Linked DNA regions of Homo sapiens: all the other regions are linked to region 4. Evidence: promoter capture Hi-C in 16 types of primary human blood cells and fetal thymus (Javierre and others, 2016). All regions are on one chromosome and are shown on one strand. Each heading gives the region's core, a stretch centred on a gene start or on the middle of the fragment in contact. The rest is flanking DNA. Distances are from core to core; before and after follow the strand shown. Region 1 overlaps UTP25 (UTP25 small subunit processome component). Region 2 holds the start of MIR205HG (MIR205 host gene). Region 3 has its middle 19 kb from the start of MIR205HG. Region 4 holds the start of LAMB3 (laminin subunit beta 3).

Region 1 (4,918 bases), core at 902-3,401, 190 kb after region 4:
GAGGCCAAGGCAGGCGAATCACCTGTGGTCAGGAGTTCAAGACCATCCCGGCTAACATGGTGAAACCCCGTTTCTACTAAAAATATAAAAAATTAGTTGAGCGTGGTGGTGTGTGCCTATAATCCCAGCTACTCGGGAGGCTGAGGCAGGAGAATAGCTTGAACCCGGGAGGCAGAGGTTGCAGTTAGCTGAGATCGTGCCATTGCACTCCAGCTTGGGCAACAAGAGCGAAACTCCATCTCAAAAAAAAAAAAAAAAAAAAAAACCAACTCTAATTAGAGGGTTAGTAATACTGAGCCTTCTATTACTGTTTGGGATAGTGGCGGCCCTTCTGGCCCTAGAGCTCATGTATTTTATTGTTTTGCTAAGTCTCTCTCTGTTGATAAATAGAAAAAGCTTTTTTATTTTTTAGATTTTTATTTTCAATTTTCATGGTTGCATAATATGTAAAAGGCTTTTTTTAACCCTTGCCTGTAGAGTTATGTAAATTACATTCTGTTACCTCATCCTGATTTCACAATAATGTCCAGTGGATTTAAGTTCTGACTTTACTGTTTTATTAACTCACAATGGGTGCATTTTCTCAGAGAATCCTAAACAGATACGCCAGAAATCTCCCAAGCTTTGGAGCACATTAGATGATGCACTTTGGCATTGCATTACCTTTTAGTTTATGCTAAAACGATTAGGATGGTGCTCCCCAGATAACGTCCTTGTTCCCAGGATGGGGAGGGAGGCGTCCCAGCAGCTTGCCTAGGCATAGCAAAGCTGGCATGGCATGACCTCTTAGAGAGTTGAGGATTGATTAAATTTGTGTTTCCCAGGCTCCATTCTTGGCTACCCAGAGAAGGCTGCTTGGCCAAAGAGTGTTAATGAATGCCTGCTTGTTGCCCTCATTATTTGCTCTGTTCCAGTAAGTTGTCGTTTCCATTCATGTTGGAAAGTATTTGGGGAAGTTGCACTCATCAGGTCTTAAAAGCTCTTAGCTTTCTATCATCTTGACAAATGAAAGCAAGCCCTTTAAGTGAAGTGGATGGATTGGAAAACTTCCCAGTGTGATTGTCTATGGCAACTGTGAATTAAGCTGGGATGGGAATTAAGCTCTTTAATATCTCAGCAGCTTTTCAAGGACAGGGCATGGAGCCCTTTGTAAGCAGGACAGTCTCCTGTATTACACTGTCTATTTACCAAGCCATGTTGCCCTCAAAGTCACGATAAGGACAAATCTCAGCATATGCCATTTGCTTTATGCCCTGGGCCAGGTTAATTGGTGTTTCTTTTGTAGAAGATGAATGAAAATAATGTGCTTTAGAGTTCTGCAACAGCTAATTATCTCAAGGTTTCCAGCTATAGAATTTTTTGCTCGAGAGATCACCAAGGTGATGATGGATGTTTTGGTGTGCAGTGCCTTTGTGATTTTTTTTTTTTTAATTTGACCTTAGAATAAGTACTTTTTTTTTCTTTTTCTTTTTCTTTTTTTTTTTTTAAGACAGTCTCACTTTGTTGCTCAGGCTGGAGTGCAGTGGTGTGATCTCGGCCCGCTGCAGCGTCTGCCTCTTGGGTTCAAGCAATTCTCGTGACTCAGCCTCCTGAGTAGCTGGGATTACAGAATTGCATCACCACGCCTGGCTGATTTTTGTATTTTTAGTAGACGAGGTTTTGCCATGTTGGCCAGGCTGGTCTTGAACTCCTGGCCTCATGTGATCTGCGCACTTCAGCCTCCCAAGAAGTGTTGGGGTTACAGGCATGAGCCACCGTGCCCGGCCAGAAAATGTACATGTATTTTATATTGTAGTATCTGACTCTGTTTTTATATTCTCTATGACAGCTGGCAATGTTAGGAAGATTAGAATTCATTTTTGAGTTAGCAAAAATTTTTTAACCTGAAGATTTGTTTTATGTGGGGAAGATTAAACTAGCAGAATCTTAGAATTGGATGAACATTTGGTCATGATTGCCCTCCCAGTGATGGGTCACAGCTCTTTTCCAGTGCGTTATCAGTGGGTTTCCACAGCAGGGAGGATCTCAACCAGGAGGCAAGTCAGAAACTGGAGGTGGGATTTGTGGAGTTTGGAAAGGCTGCTGGGAATTTCTGATTACTCCCTTCCCCTACAGGAGAATCCCAGTTCTAGAAGTAGTAGACTTGGTCTTTATGGACCGTAGGAAGGAGCCAGTCTTTCAAGTTCATTGTGGTTGCCTCATTTGTCTTTAACAGTGGCTCGTGAAATAGACATGTGGAAGGTACTGTAAGGGTGATTAGGCTGTGTTTGTAGGAGTCACTGAAAACAAAGCATATATAAGGGAGGAGGAAGGCAGGGTAAGGGGTGCTCAAGCTATGGAGACTTGCCACTAACTGCCCCTTGGAAGAGGCCCTGGCCATGTTCTCTGTTGCCAGGAGATACTCAGTCTCTATTGTGGTTGCATTGGGACTGAGACAGATTTTCATGTGTGTGTGTTTAATATAACACTTAACAGTTTTATTGTTTTGTTTTTCCTGATTGTGAGGGTATTTCACAGTTATTGTAGAGATATTGGAAATTTTAGGTTAAAAATCTCACTGCCCTGATATAAATACTCTTTTTGGTAATTTTTTTCCATCTTTTTTATGTGAAAAATGTGTGCACATGCACACGTGCACACACACACGTGTTTTTTTAAAAAACAATACTAAAATTAGGATCTTTTTTTGTTTTAAGGATTTTTTTTTCCTTTGTCTTAGATGTTTTATGTGCTCATTTAAAAAAATTCAAAGACTAACATTTTGGCCTGTATATTTGTATATTGTGGATTTTTGTGTATATTTTTAAGTTACTATATATAGCTCTACGACATCCTCTCTTCCCCCAGGTTTTTATTTGAAAAGATTTCATTGTGAAAGAAAATTGTTAAGAGACTAACAATAAACATCTGTTTATTTATAAATGCTTTTACCCCAAATTCCACCAGCTGTTCTCATTTTATCACATTTGCACATACCCATCTTCTCTCTATCCCCACTCACATCTCTTATTTTTTCTTCCTGAACCATTTGAAAGTAAAGTAGCGTGAGTCTTCATTGACACTTCACCCCTAAATATTTTAGCATGTAGCTCCTAAAAACAAAAACATTCTTTTATCTAACCATAGCACCATTATCATGCTACCTGATGTTACTACAGTAATATCATCTGATATCTAGTCTATATTCAGATTTTGCTAGTTGTCACCAAAATGACCATTATAGCTCTTTCCCCTCCGGCCAAAAAGGATTCAGTAAGGATCATATATAGCATTTGGTTAACTTACTGCTTTTGTTTCTTTAATCTAGTTTAGTTCTCAATTGGGGAACAATTTTGCTCCCTCAGGGACATTTGGCAATATCTGGAGACATTTTTGGTTATCACAACTGGAGGATTATTCTGGTGGTTCCAGTGGGTTGAGACCAGTGATGCTGTGAAACACCTTCGTTCACAGGACAGCCCCCAACCACAAAGAATTATCTGTCTCAAAATGTCAGCAGTGTTAACACTGAGAAACCCTCATCCAGAATAACTCTCTTGCTTTTTTACTTTTTCATGACATCGACATCTTTTTGAAGAGTCCAATCTGGTTTCCTGCAGTATGTCTCACAGTCTGGATTTATCTAATTGTTCCCTTGTTATTTAGATCAGTGGTTCTCAAACTTTGCCGTACGTTAGAATAGAAGCTTTTAAAAATCCAAATGCCCAGGTCACATCCCAGTACCAATTAAATCGCAGTGTCTGGGATGGGGACCAAACCTAAGTATTAATAAAAAAAATAAAAAAACAACCAGCTAGGTGATTTCAATGTGCAGCAGTTTGGGGATGACTGATTTAGAATAAATATCTTTTGATAAGAATTCTACTTAGGGAATATTACGTACTTTCTACCTCATCTCATCAGAAGGCACGTAATGTCACTTTGTCTCATTCTTGGTGATGCCAAATCACTAAAATCACTTAGTGTGTGTATGTAATTAATAAGTAACGTGTGAGGTAAACATCACATTGTTTTTAATGGCTACATAGTATTACATTGGTTAATTAAGCTAGCTTCCTTTTAGTGGGCATATAGGGGTTTTTTTTCTGTTTTCTGCTGTTGTATATAATAATACGCAAAACATCCATATGCATATGTTTTGATGAAATACTTACCTAGTTATTTTCTTGGGATAGATTTTGAAAGGAAAACTCGTTAGCACAGAGGCTGTACACAGTTAAAAATGTGTCATGCGTTGCCACTTATTTGCTCCTTTGCATCTTTTCCATATCTTCTCCTGAATTCATAGACAAAGTAATTTATGCTCCATTCACCTATTTCTCCAAAGCTCCATAGACTGAATTATTGCTACTGATGTGATAGTCAAAATGATACCTCATTGTTTGGATGTCTTTTCTTGCTTTTTTGTGTCTTCTATAACTTTCAATGGAATGTAGAGGCTGAAGTAAATAATACTTATGTCCGGCCGCACCCCTTCCGTAGGCCACTGGTGTGGGTGCTATCAATCTAGTCAGGATTTGATTGTTACTGTAGATACCTTCCCAACACCACAGACCTCAAATTCCTCCAGCAGACAGTGGGCTTGGTGTAGGGTCTCGGGTGCTGGAGGGTTTTTCTCAGTGTCCTGATTGCTCAGCTGTCACTGAGGCCTTGACACGTGTGCCAGAGGAGGGTCTCACTCCACACTCAGACCCCTCCTCACAGGAGGCCTCTTGTTTCTCCTTGCAAGGCATGAAGTCGGGGGGAGGGGGTTCTCCTGGTCCAGCTCAATTTTTGGCAGGCCCTTTTTATTCCAAGCTTTGGGGGTGAGGTTTTCTCAGGGTTCCTGCCCCGCTACCTCCGTGGCAGCCAGACTCCACCTTTTATCTGTGAGGGATCTTTGTGGTGAAGTGTATACAGCTTCTTCCCTAATCGAACT
Region 2 (4,453 bases), core at 1,302-3,801, 220 kb before region 4:
CTGTCCTTACTGTTTCACCCCCAAGAGTCCAGTCCACTCCAAATGTTGTGCAGTGGAACCTAGGTAGCTTATCTTTTGGTGTTCTTCCCCTATAGAAATAACCGCGGTTGATTCAACAGACCTTTATTGAAGACCTCAGGCACAGTGCTAGGCATGGAGGGGAAGCTGCAAAGTTAGATGAGCTTATAAGCAGAATTTAGTCAGAGAGACCCATACCTAACTCTAATGCTAACCACGTGTTAAAACACTTTGGAGAATTTCAGGTCTTTTATCTTTTTCTTCAAAAACTGAAGATGTGGCAGTTAGTTTTGGGGCTGGAAATTTGAGCAGAGAGAATGGCAGAGTCTTTTCAGGAGCCAGAAATGCATGTGAGGACCAAGAACTTCTAACAGTAGAGGAACTCTGGCTGGGGTAGTTGAGGGGGAGGAGAAATGAGGATCAAGGGGGCATACAGTGCATGAAAACAAAAGGTGAGGCCCAAGATCAGCCAAAGTGAGTAAACCACGGTTACCATGGCTACTCTTCAGTGGAGACGGAAGGAAGCCCTGTATCCTCCCCTTCCAACCACACTACGCTGTTCCACTCCCCATCTCCATCTCCTGTACCCCAGACACACTCAGGCAAGCACAGCACCACCCTGGATGACTCTGCGGAATGCCTCTCAGAGACACGGAACTAGAAACCTAGGGGAAGAGGGACATCAAGGCTTTTGCCTCACAAGCTGACTCTGGAACAAAGAGCCAGGCTGAGGGGCTGGAAGAAGAAACTTCCAGCAGAGCCACCCAGATATGCTTCCCCCACCCTCTAGACCTTCCACACCAACCAGTGTCCAGTCAGTCCACAGAGCATCCTCCTGGGCTGTGGTGACTGAAGTTGAAGGGAAGAAAATATAATAATAATTTTGGGCAGGTCGTCTTTCTTTACTGTATTGGATGGATATAGAATCAATAAATCTATAGGTTTATCCCATTTTTCTGAACAAATTTAGAGGTCAAAGATGAACCCTCAAGGGGACAGAATATGACCAGCAGGACTATTGATATCGTCTGCCCTAGGCACTCCTCCTTACCCTCCTCTCCCCTATATTTTGGGGGCAGTCATATTCCTCAGCAGTCAGTTGCTCTGCCTCCAGTCCTAACTGGCTTCTGAAAAACAGTTCTGGTCCATTCATTCCCTGTCTCGAGACTTCCGGAGCTTCCTGACCTGTGAATGAAATCCACAGGCCCATCACAAGATGGCTGCGCTCTCCAGTCCCCGGCACCCCAGGCTGCTCTGAACATGTGAGAGCTCCTCCCTCAAGGCCTGAATTTTCGCAGGTCTTCATCACACTCAGCCCGCCATCATTTTTTCAGATTCAGTTCCAATATGTCACTCTGTCTGTAGAGCCTTCCCTGAATCTCACAGACAAATGCGGCAGTTCCCTTTGTGGGGGATATTCATCATGTTTTTCCTCATTGGCCTATGTTTTTGCCTCTTCTTGTAGATGTCCATCTAGGCTGGGAGCTCCTAGGGGGTAAACGCAGCCTCTCACTCACCTGGCACAGAGTCGATGCTCATGGAATGATACGTGATGGGGAGAGTGAGTAAGTGAATGAATGAATGAATGCTATTCTGGAAGGAAGAGGGAGAGAGGGAGCAGGGAAAGGTCAGAAGGGGGCCCAGAGTCTTCAGCACACAATGTGGGTGTATCACTGTGGCCAGGAACAATTCGCTTCTCTGCCTGCATTACTTTTTGGGAAATGGGAGAGCTGAGGCTCAGTGTAGGCAAACTGGGTCCAGTCAGCAGGGAAGCCATGAGCTCCACGGTTTAGGGGAGGAGTCCGGTGCTTAAGGAAGCTATCACGTGGAAGATCTCCCTGCCCTCCTCCTATTGGTCTGTATTGGTTTTTCTTCTTCACCAGTGGAGGCTTTTCTTCTCCCAGGAAGAATCCAGAATAGTTCAGACAAGCTTCAGGTCCGCCAGAACCGGGGAAAACAACGTGTAGGGTTTGTTTTAAAGGGCTTTTAAATGGGGTTTGGGAGATCCAGGTAGATTAGAATCTTGACTCTGCACTGGCTGTGCAAGACAGAAATTCACCTTTCAAAACTTCTGTTCCCCAGTCTATGCGGTAAGAAGTTTAGATTAGCTGATTTCTAGGGAGATTTTGGGCAGGCATGATTCAGTTCCATGAAGGGCTGTGGGACAGGACTGCACTAAGAGGTCCTATAGATTGGATTCTTCAGTTCCCTCCCTTCCGCTGGAGAATAGAGGAATCTGCCTTCGCTGCACACTAGATTTACCTGGAGAACAAATGGAAAGCAGGCCAGGATCCTGGGTGAAATGTGGCACATTTGAGGAGACTTCAACTTCCCTTGCCCTCCAGGTGTGCACTTGGAAGGGGGAACGAGGGAGGGGGAAGCTGGCAAGATGGGCCGAGAGATAGGGGAGGGGCAGGAGGCGGAGCCCAAGTTGCGCATGGAAGCGGGGGTGGGGTAAAATAATCAAGTTTATAGACCGCCCTCTTTAAAGTTACTAATGAGCTTGCCTTCTCTTTCCTTAATTTCCCCTCGCAGTGTGGTCTTTTCCCCACCCCCAGACATGAAAGGGAAGCAGGTCACAAAGCCTTTCGGATTATAAAAGAAACACTTGCTTCTCACAAGGGGAGCAGCAGACTTACTCTGTACTAAATGCCAGGATAAGCCTCTGGCTGGGCCTCGACTGTGACCCTCCGGCCTCTTTCTACAGCTCTGCCTGGATGGACTGGCCTATCTCTGCTGGATTCCCGAAGTGCATTGTGTAGAGACAGCAACTCAGGTCAGGCTAAAAGCTCAAGCAAGCAAGCGCGCACACACACGCGCGCACACACACACACACACACACAAACACTCAGCTTCCTTAGGACAAGATAAAATCTTAGCATTCCCCTCTCCCCGATTAGGTAGGTCTCTGGGAGGACTAAGGCTTCAGGTGCAAGGCTCAGATAACCTGCAGTGTCTCTCCAACTCTGGGATGACAAAGACCTCACTTCCCTTTTCTGGTGTTCACACAACAATGAGAAAGTACGGGTAGCCTGCAGAAAGACCTCTCCATTCATGGTCCCCCAGGGGTGTGGGTTCTGAGAGGTGGGACCAGCTGCCAGGCCCTTTCTCCATTGGTTGAGTTCAGCAGGTAACCTGAAGCTTTGCTGAGAGGTGCATAAATAAAGAGTGAAACTAGTACCACCTCCTTGAAATGGGCTGAGTCCCTCTTGCTCACCCTTGACTTGGAAAAACCAGTTTCTCTTTTATTGTCTGTTACTAATCTCTATTCTAAAAATTCAGCTCAATTCTCAACCATACTCCAAACTCTCTCTTTTCCAGCTACCTTTACTCCCTCTCCTTCAATTCCACTTTCCTCTGCTTACTTTTTTTTTTTTTCTGACAGGGTCTCACTTTGTCGCCCGGGCAGGAGTGCAGTGGCTCAATCTTGGGCTCACTGCAGCCTCAACCTCCCAGGTTCAAGCGATTCTCCTGCCTCAGCCCCTCAAGTAGCTGGGACTACAAGCGCACACCACCACGCCTGACTAATTTTTTGTATTTTTTTGTAGAGGCGGGGTTTCACCATGTTGCCCAGACTGGTCTTGAACTCCTGAGCTTAAGCAATCCACCTGCCTCGGCCTCCCAAAGTGTTGGGATCACAGGCGTGAGCCACCGCATCCGGCCTCATGTTCTTTTTCATTAAAGAGAGAAATCAACTATTCAGGACCGGCCCCCACCTTTCCTCAGGAGTCATTTCTGTTCCGCACAGGCCTGCTGAACTGGGTGCTTTATATAGGGTAAGTGTTTCTCATTTTTTGTTCCCTGTCCTCAAGCCTTAGGGGCAAAAGAAACATCCAAGATTTGAAATTTCTTTTCTTCTTCTCATCTGCATGGCTGTAGCCATCTCTCTGTTCTGCATTATCTTATGACAAAAAAAAAAAATTCTTATTTTGAAGCAAACTCAAAGCTAGGTCCTGATGTCTCAAGGCACAGGTACTCGTACTTAAAGGTGAGTCTGAAATCTGTGGATTTGGGGAACTTTGGAAAAACAAAGATGAGTGGCTAGATCAGGGGGCTCATTGGGCAGGAAGAGGAGACTGGAAAATGCCATATTCACTGCAAGTCAATTATCAACTTCCTCCAAGGCTAAAATAGCTGAACCTGCTGCATTTTAAACCAATCCTCAGCCACTTTGGTGTTTTCTCAAGGATTTCCAGGGATCCCAGGCAGTAAATTCTGCTGATAATAGGAATTGGTGTGATAAGGTGGGTGCTGAGCAGTTTAAGCACCAAGATTGTAGCTCTGTCTGGTTTTGTGGAGATTTACTCAACTAGAAGAACAGAGATTTGGCTGGTTTTTCAGTCCTGGGGTGCAGGGTGCACCTGTACTGGAAAATTTAGGACGTGGTTTCATTCTTTGAGTCTCATGTTCAAGTTGGTTTTAATGTTATGAAGAC
Region 3 (4,859 bases), core at 998-3,497, 240 kb before region 4:
CTATGAATTTGACTACTCTAGCACGCATGTAAGTGGAATCATTATGATACTTGTCCTTTTGTGACTGGCTTATTTTACTTAGCACAATATTTTCAAGGTTCATCTGCATTGTAGTATGTGTCAGAATTTCCTTCCTTTTGAAGGCCTAATAATATTTCATTGCATGTATGTAACACATTTTGCTCATCCACTCATTTGTGGATGGATGGTTGGGTTGCTATGACCTTTTGGCTATTGTGAATAATGCTGCTATAAATAGGCATGTAAGCCCATTTCTTCTTGACTGCTAGTTAGTTTTTCCTTATACTCAATTAAAATTTGCCTCCTTGTAACTTCTGCCGGTTGGTCTTCATTCTACTACCTTAACTTCTTGCAAGGCAAACCCTCTCCATTTTCCTTACAGGAAACCTCAAATATTGGAAGACAACCTTGACATTTTAGTCATCTCTTTTATAGCCCAGATACGACAAGTTCTTTTAGTCGTTCAATCATTCCTCATGTAACATATTTTCCAAGCCCTTCACCAACCTAACATGATTCTCTGGACACATCTTAGATCATATTTGCTTTTAGGAAAACCACATGTCACTATTGTTTCATCTTTTGGTTATGGTCCAATAAAGAGTCCTTTACGTAAAAAGCCCTTGCCTTTTCAATATTAGCATCTGCAAAACTAGCTTTCCCTATTCTGTCATTGCACAGTTGATTTTTTTGAGCATTGGTGCAGTAGATTAACATTTATATGTGTTAAGTCTCATCTTCTTGAATCTGATCCAGACTTCTAGTGTATAGAGATTACTTTTAATGTTTTCTCCATCACTCTATGTCATACAAAAAATTGGAAATCTATTTGTTACTGTGTTCCTTCAAATTATTGATTTATATATTAAAGATCACATAGTTATAGCAAAAGTAAACCTTACCAGCCTCTCCTTCCAGATTATCAACACTCTTTAAATACCTAAATTCAACCAACTGGAAATGCACTTAACTTCAACAGTGCCTAATTCAGCTATCGTAGTCTTATCCACTAGGATATCATAGAACACCATGTCAAACATGTTATGGAAATAGAGATATTCTAGGTTTATGGACCTTCACAGATTTGCCAGTGTAGTCAGTTCATAATGGGTCAGTTTATGGTAGCAGTATCCGTACTGGTTGCTAGAGATCACCTCATTCTTTTCTAAGCATGCATAAAGCATGAGTTTAATATACTGTTGAAGAATTCTATCAGATCCAAGGCCAAGTTTTGTTAGAGGTGGCTTCCAAAACTCCTTTTTCCCTCTTTTTGAAAATTAGAAGAATATTTTTCTATTTCTAGTATTCTGGGAAATTTTTCATCTTTGTGATGTGGAAAACAAGAGTTTTGAGATTTCATCTAAAAATGTCTTTATTATATGAGATCCAGCCACCTGGACATGAAGACTGTGATCTGATTCAAAATGACTACATAATAATATCTCTCCACCCACCCTTAACTTATAGATTCTAACCTCTCTAATTTGACTTCCCTATTCTTCTTCTTCTTTTTTTTTGAGACGGAGTCTCACTCTGTCACCCAGGCTGGCGTGCAGTCGCCCAATCTCGGCTCCCTGCAACCTCCGCCTCCTGGGCTCAAGCAATTCTCCTGCTTCAGCCTCCCAAGTAGCTGGGATTACAGGCATGTGCCACAACCCCTGGCTAATTTTTGTATTTTTAGTAGAGACAGGGTTTCATCATGTTGGCCAGGCTGGTCTTGAACTCCTGACCTCAGGTGATTTGCCCGCCTCACCTCCCAAAGTGCTGGGATTACAGGAGTAAGCCACCACGCCTGGCTTCCCTATTCTTGAAAGAGATTGAACTTCAACTTCCACTGGGCTTTCATCTTCTCTCATTTATTTGTTAACTTGACAATTTCCTCAAAGAGTTGGCCCATCCATTCTTGATCATTTTCATTGTTTTTCTTGTATATTTAAGTCATTTTTTTGGTTGAGAGAAGATTTGTGATCCACAGTAGAAACGAAGGAGATGACAGATACCCCGGCACCAAAACTGACACCAGGTTTTTGTTGCTTCTTCCACTATATAATGGAGAAGTTCTGTTTACTCTAGTTGTGCAACTACTGTTAACATTGGCTTAAGGAAACCCAAGAAACTGAATCACATCAAAGGTATGTCAGAGGTATGTGAACCAGAGCAACTCCATCTTGAATAAGAGCTGGATAAAATAAGGCTGAGACCTACTGGGCTGCATTCCTAGATGGTTAAGGCATTCTGAGTCATAGGATGAGACAGGAGGTCCACACAAGATACAGGTCATAAAGACCTTGCTGATAAAACAGGTTGCAGTAAAGAAGCCAGCTAAAATCCACCAAAACTAAGATGGCCATGAGTGTGACCTCTGTTGTCCTCACTGCTACACTCCCACCAGCGCCATGACAATTTACAAATGCCATGGCAACATCAGGAAGTTACCCTATATGGTCTAAAAGAGGGAGGCATGAATAATCCACCCCTTGTTTAGCATATAATCAAGAAATAACCATAAAAACGGGCAACCAGCAGCCCTTGGGACTGCTCTGTCTATGGAGTAGCCATTCTTTTATTCCTTTACTGTCCTAATAAACTTGCTTTCACTTTACTCTATGGACTGGCTCTGAATTCTTTCTTGCACAAGATCCAAGAACCCTATTTTGGGGTCTGCATCAGGACCTCTTCCCTGAAACAGATAGACATGGACATCAGCCCCACTCGTTGCCACTTTATTGACCCAGGGAATATCAGGGCTCAGTATCCTCATATCTCAAATGAAGAACTGAATTCAATCTTCCTAACTGAGGCAATACTGCCACTTTGAAAGGGAAGTTCTCTGCTATGTGGAACTATATCACATTCCGTAGATTGCTTAGCATCCATGATTTTGGGACATTAAATGCAATTGTGTCCCTTGGTCACTGTCACTGTGAAAATCCCAAACAACCATATACATATCCAAATGTCCCTGGCTGAGACCCACTGGTATGATCTCTAATGTCCCCTTCAGCTCTGAATTTCTGGATCTATCCTTGTTTGCAGACAGATGCTTTGAAGTTTTCAATCATTAATAACTTTATGTTAAGTTTTAGTCAATAATGTATTACATTATTGGAAGTCATTTTCTAGATGAAATAGAGGTGGTCTGTTCAATTACAGCAGACATGCAACATTTTAATCCAATTTTTCAAAATTAGCAGGAGTAACTAATTACAAATCTAGACATTAAGAAAAACTGGTACACAATTAATCATTTAAGTCAACTGAATGAAGAGCCTAGATGAATTTTAAAATGTTGACAAATTCTTATTACAGCATCACAATAAAGAAAAGCAAGCTGCTAAAGCTATGTATTTTTCCTTTGTTTTAAAAAAGTGAAAGGCTAACCAGTTTCTTATTCTCTACTGTAACTTGAAATTCTTCTGCAGATCAAAAGAATTTCCCCAAATCCAAGAGAATTATCTTTCTGCGCAGAACTGTGTATTTGCCTTCTCTCAGAGCAAATAATTTAGTCCATCAACATTGTGCTTTCCAAGGAGGCTTATTTTTTATCCTTCCTCTTTGCAATATCTCCCTGTCCCCACTCTAGTAGCACACACACCAGCCCCTTCCATCACCCCTACAACTGCCACTGGCACCACCGACACTACCACCACCCAAGGAGAGCCAGAATGACGACCAGCTTGCTTCCCCTCAGCAGAAATGGGCATGACTACTCAAATGCAATACAGGGTTCTTTACAGACAACATGCTCAGAAAATGTTTTCTTAGCAGAGCGGAAGGCCACCCCCTACTTCCCACCAAAAATATCTGGCCTCTCTCAAGGCTTTCTGAGCAAGTCCAGACAGACAGAAAAGGGTTGTGAAACTGAAGATGCCTCTTTATTTTTTTTTCTTGGTAGGAGAGTGAGAAATGGGGAAGGAATAATTTTACAACAATGAGTTCTGTCAGGCTTCTTTTCCCTTTCCAACAGTTCTAGGATCTAGCATCAGCAAAACATGTTATGTCATGCCCTGGTGAGGAGACAAAAAGGGAAGGAATTCAAACTGCAATGGGTGGGGCTTTAAGATGCGTGGCCTCTCTTATTGCTATTTATTTCCTTTCTCACTGGCCTTTGGAAAAAAAGAAAAAAAAAACGGCAAAGGATTTGGGGGCTACACCAAAAGAAAGTGAAGGAGCAGAGTATGTGAGAAACTGAAATCTATGTAACTACTTGAAGCAATTGGAAGTTCAGCCCAAACCTCAAATTCATTTTTGTTTTTCTGCTAATTATCTGGCATAGAAAGCCAGCCCTGGGGCAGCTGCTTCCCAGCAAATGGATCCAGGTCTTCAGTCTGGATTGGGACCAGGCTTTGGACAAAGGCTGTGTAATTTTCATAGCTTCTTTTGCCATTTACAGAAGAAATGGGACTAGCTACTCTTCCTTCAGGACAGAGCCAACAAATACAGGTTCCTACTGTAGCTGCTGGGATCCAGGTTAGATAATGAAGTTACTGGCAGTGCATCCTGCAACAAAAGGATGTTGTGAAACATCTCCTCCAGAAGTCTGAATATCTGAAGAGTTTCTCATCTCTCTCCTCTGTCTTTTCTGACCCTTTCAGGAGGCAATAGAGTTGCTAACAGCTTCATTCTTCTTTCCTTCCTTTCTTCATTTCTTAATTTAGCAAACATTTATTCAGCATCTATTGTGTCACTTTTTATACTTGAAACTTGGAGGAAGAGAAGGGAAACCAGTAAAAGTCTTTGATTCTAATCCAGGTGATTGATATCCATGGTTTACACCAAGGTAGCAGTAATGGGAATGGGCAGAAATGGTTAGATTCAAGGCAATGTTAACGTGGTAG
Region 4 (4,488 bases), core at 1-2,500:
ATGTGACTCACAGGGTGCCCTGGGAAAATCCCATCCCTTCCCAGACTCCAGCTTCCTCCTCTAAAATGGATGGGAAGGAGTGTGGACCCTGCCCTACCCCACACAGCCGTAAGGACAACGTGGGGAGCAGGAAAAGGCTGGACCCTTTGCAGGAGAAAAGCTGTAGAAAGGGCCAAGACCTAGTTCCAGCCCCAAGAGAGAGGGCTGGCTTTTCTCAGGGCCTAGACCAGCAGCCTCAACCCAGCCCCGCCCAAAGTGAATGAGTCAGAGTGGCTGACGGCCTGGAGGCAAACCTTCTCCTGTCACGGGCATGGCCTCCAATACCATTCAGGGCCACTTTGAGTTTGAGGCTCTGTGCCCACAATTCTGGGATGCAACAGGGAGAGATGTATGGCTGTCTTTAACAAGTGAGTGAGGGTTTCTTCTGAAAGGGAAGCAACCCAAAATGTCTTCAATGATGGGCTGGGGCTCGACAAGAGGGGTGGGGCTGGGAGGCCACAAAGCAGGGATTCTGAAGGAGGCTGGGGAAGGATGCTCGAAAGCCACCGTGGGGTCCCAGAGGCAGGCCTGCCTTGTGGAAACATGCCCCACCCTTGCTCATGCAGTGACCCTTCTGCCTTGAATTGGATGTTCACTCTGTTCCAATGACAGCCACAAACTCTTTTGGCTGGGGTGGAGGGCTGGGGGCTTGGCAAGGCAGGGGCGGGGGGGGAAATTGAGGACATTTCTGGCATCTTTAAATTATAGATCCTAATGCTTCAAAATCATTCCTTCCAATCCCTCTCCTAAAAGAGTCATGGGCCCAGGGAGGGAACATGTGGCCTGGGGTCCCACAGCTAACGATGGCCTAAGAGAGACCCATCTTCTGACTTTCATCCAGTGCTTTCTCAGCTTTCCCACCCCTGACTGAAAATCCCCCTGCAAGTAGGCATTCTGAGCCAGGCCAGCCCACCCTTCTCACTTCTCTTTTGTGCTCAACCCCGGATCTGAACCTGCTTTCTTCTAAGCCACTGAGGTGCTTATCAAATGTGAAAAAGAAATCAAAACTGTAGCAGACATTTTAACCTAGCTCACCTGAGTGAGCTCCCAGGAAGAGGAATAAATCAGGCCCTGAAACCAGGCCCCAGGCATCCAGAGATACAGTCCTCCTCCCGCATCCGGCCCGCACCAGGCAGGTAAAGACAGGTAACATACCTTGCTGTGTGTTCTGCCGTTCTTTCTCCAGATCGCCTGAAAGCTCCTCTTGAATGTGGGGGTCTCCCCTCCCGGCTCCAGGTTTTTAAACAACAGCCTCACCTCTGGAGACTCCCTGGCTGGGTGTAGCCCCACCGCAGGGCGGGTCTCAGGAATCTGGCAGCCGTCACACCCATCTGTCGTCACTGCACCCCCACCTCCCAGGACGGGACTGGGCAAGTGGGTTGGTCGGTCCGTCCCAGAGTTCTTGTAGTGAGCTCCACAATGCCCACCTGCCTGTGGGGGCTGCAAGGGGCCCCTCAAACAGAAAGCACAAGGCACATGTAAGTGATCATCAGAGACCAGAATTCACAGGGTGGGGAAGGGCCCTTGCATTTGTGCCAGGCAATGAACTCAGCATTTTCCCAAAGCCAGCAGGGGTCAGCTTCTTCTTGTGACCTGGACCACCCCAGACAGAAGATCAGGCAGAGAACACAAAGATTAGGGCTTATATAGAGAGTTAAAGCTCCAGACATATCACCGGGCTGGAAGGTGAGAAGACTCAAACATCCAGGACCCTGGAAAGCACCATTCCCCTCCCCAGTGAAAAAAAAAATGAAAAATCCCAGCTTCTTGGGGCATTTGGAGGATCCTTAAAAGGCAAGGTTCATCAGGAAGGATTCAAAGCTCAACTCATCCAAGGAAAGCTTAAGAGAAATGAGCAGAGTAACTAAATGGCTCGCCTCCAGCTCCCTCCACAGGGTTGGCAGGGAGCCCTGGGACAGGTAGCTGCCTGTGAGTCACTCCTCCCACCTGTGGGGAGGGTTAGTCTCCTAGCCCCTCCCTCCCTAGGCAGGAATGCCCGCCTGGAGGGCCAGAAAACAGACCTGACCACAAGTGGTGGAAGGAAAGGCTGAAGCATAGCTTGACTGACAAAGTCAAAACAGACTTTCCCTGGCCTCCTGCCAGGCCTGAGAACACAGCTTCTTTTGTGGGCTCCTTGCTCAGGGATCCTGGGCTTCCAGCCACTGTAAATGGAAGTGGCAGGTCCAAATTGAGAGGCTGGTCTCACAGGACACTCTTTCCCCCAGGTTAGGGTCAGAGAGCTTTTAGGGAAACCTGGAGGGTCAGCCAGTCCATATCTTGGCCCTGGAGAGCCTGCACTGGCACCGTTTTGGAATGCTAGGACCTCAAAGCTACTATTTAAAGGAGCTTCTTAACTACGATTCCACTTTGTTAGTGTCTCCTAAACAGAAAGTTCTCCACCATTGGAGGGTTATGTCCAAGAAATTGGCTTGAAGACCCTTAAGGGGGAAATGTAGAATTTTGTGGATTAAATTGGGCATTTCTAACCCTCAGATTCGAATTAAGCATAAGTTCAGGTAGGCAGAAGAAATAGTGTAATTAGCAAGTGGGCAGTGAGTTGTTGATGTAAGTTGATGCATAATTGATAGTCCAATAAATGTTAGAGTCTTGCCCCCTGTAAGCATTCCAGTGAAATCTAGCTCAACTCAGCAAGTAAGGTCAGTAGAAGCAGTGTCCCTTCAACACAGAGAGACCTCCCTCAAGTCCCCCACCGAGAAAGGTCAGCTCTGACTCTGACACACCTGTGTTTTCAGTTCTCCCACCTGGTGGTCTCTTTCTCTCCACTTCCCCAACTCCCTGAACTCAGAGCGCTCATGAAACTTTCGCCCTCTGCCCATCACCAGAGGATGTGACAAAGAACTCATTAATAATTAACTCAGCAGAAGAGAGCAGGTGTTGCAATCCCAGATCCTCAGAGGAGAAAAGGCAGGGCAGGTGTGCGGTGGGCCTCACCATGAGTAGCTGGGGCCCCTTAAATCCTCCTCCTCCTCCCTTTATCTGAGGCCATGAGCCCAGGTAAATACACATTCGGTGTCTCAGACTTCACAGGCTTGGGCAGGTCCTGGAGTGGTTTGGCTTCGCAGGAGGGACATGCCAATTGCTGTGCTTGGCTCTCCCCTACACTCCCGGCAAAGTCCAGGAAGCTGTTTATGCAGACCCCCAAGAGCAGCCCAGCCAGCCTCACTCCTGAGGGACACTGATCATTTCCAAGTGGGGATCCAGTCCCCCAAGAACTCCAGGGCTCCAGGCACAAGCTCTGGAGCTTCAGAACCCAATTTGTTCAGTCAAGTAGCCTAAAATAGAGCCTGAGGCCAGATCAGGGTCCAGCTAAGATTAAAGGGGTGTGGTACTGTGGCTGGAGCCCCTCAGCCTCCCCTGTGTGCACACCTTTCCTCTCTCCCTGCGCCCATCCTCCTACAACAGAGCACTTATCTGCCCTAGAGCCTTGACTTATTAGAATGTGTGCTCAGGAAAGTGGCTAGTGAAGTCATCCCAGACTTCAGTATCTTTCAAACCTCATCACTCCATCAGCAAATTCGGTCAGCTCTGCCTTCCAATAATAATCAGAATCTACTTCTTCCCTCCTGGCCTGAGCCTCTTTTCCTGGGACGTCTGCAACAGCCTCCTCACTGATATACAGTCAAGTCCCAACACAGCAGGTTATGCACCCCGAGCTCAGAATCTTCACATGCCCCTATCCCACTCAGGGCCAAGGCCAGAGCTTTTTCAGAGTCTAGGGGACCCTACACCACCTTCCTCCCATTACTCTTCACCTCTACTACAATGGCCTCTATCCCTGTCTTAGCTCAGGCTTAGGGCTTTGGCTCCAGCTGCTTCTGCTGCCTGGAACGGTCTTGCCCCTGGATATCTACAAAGCTAACTCTCTGACCTCTTTCAAAGTCTTTGTTCAGATCCTAACTTCTCAATGAGGCCTATCCTAAACACACTATTAAAATTACAGCCAACTTCCCTGCCCCATCCCTGTCCCCCATCCTAACACTCCTAACCCCACCTACCCTATATTTTGGTGAGTTATTTATTTACTTATTTGGTAGGGGGGCATCATGTACCAGCTTCTAACCAACTATATAATTTATCTGCTTATGTTTATTTTCTGTCTCTTCCCAACTAGAATGTAATATCCAAGAAGGCAGAGATTTCTATCTTATTCACTACTGTTTTCCAAGTGCCTGGCACATAGTAGGTGCTCAATACTTGTGGAATGAATGGATCCACACTAAAGTACAAACAATTGATACAGTTCAATGCATCCCCTGTGCCGTTGATGTGTAGTTGCATTCTCAGAGGGGACAATCCAGGCTTTGGGCACTGGGATGGATTACTAATAGTGGAAATTCCTGTATCAGCCAGAGTGCGGAGGTCTTTTTTGAGGCACCTATCTCCAATTACAGAAATGTCACCATATTGACAGAGGCAGTCTCCTTCTTT

Evidence for each region. Contacts are between HindIII fragments. The CHiCAGO score rates a contact against its expected background, and 5 or more counts as called.
Region 1: a contact is called between a fragment that was not itself captured here and the fragment with the promoter of LAMB3 in region 4, in 1 of 17 cell types (activated CD4 T cells). The highest score is 5.2, in activated CD4 T cells.
Region 2: a contact is called between a fragment that was not itself captured here and the fragment with the promoter of LAMB3 in region 4, in 1 of 17 cell types (monocytes). The highest score is 6.3, in monocytes.
Region 3: a contact is called between a fragment that was not itself captured here and the fragment with the promoter of LAMB3 in region 4, in 1 of 17 cell types (monocytes). The highest score is 8.4, in monocytes.

Annotation. Positions count from the first base shown.
Region 1 is chr1:209,844,391-209,849,308 of GRCh38, forward strand. The region is part of intron 11 of UTP25 (UTP25 small subunit processome component); the gene reads left to right. Among named protein-coding and RNA genes, the nearest start is that of UTP25, 19 kb to the left of the region's middle. The HindIII fragment of the contact is 3,063 bases long and covers 621-3,683 here.
Region 2 is chr1:209,425,615-209,430,067 of GRCh38, forward strand. MIR205HG (MIR205 host gene) reads left to right here and starts at 3,206. Exons shown (of 4, transcript NR_145437.1): 1 at 3,206-3,474; 2 at 3,567-3,794. RefSeq lists an enhancer at 2,204-3,127. The HindIII fragment of the contact is 1,211 bases long and covers 1,947-3,157 here.
Region 3 is chr1:209,407,814-209,412,672 of GRCh38, forward strand. No RefSeq gene overlaps it. Among named protein-coding and RNA genes, the nearest start is that of MIR205HG, 19 kb to the right of the region's middle. The HindIII fragment of the contact is 9,121 bases long and covers 1-4,859 here.
Region 4 is chr1:209,651,175-209,655,662 of GRCh38, forward strand. It overlaps LAMB3 (laminin subunit beta 3), which reads right to left and starts at 1,251. Exons shown (of 23, transcript NM_000228.3): 1 at 1,195-1,251. RefSeq lists an enhancer at 753-1,952. The HindIII fragment of the contact is 2,819 bases long and covers 1-1,878 here.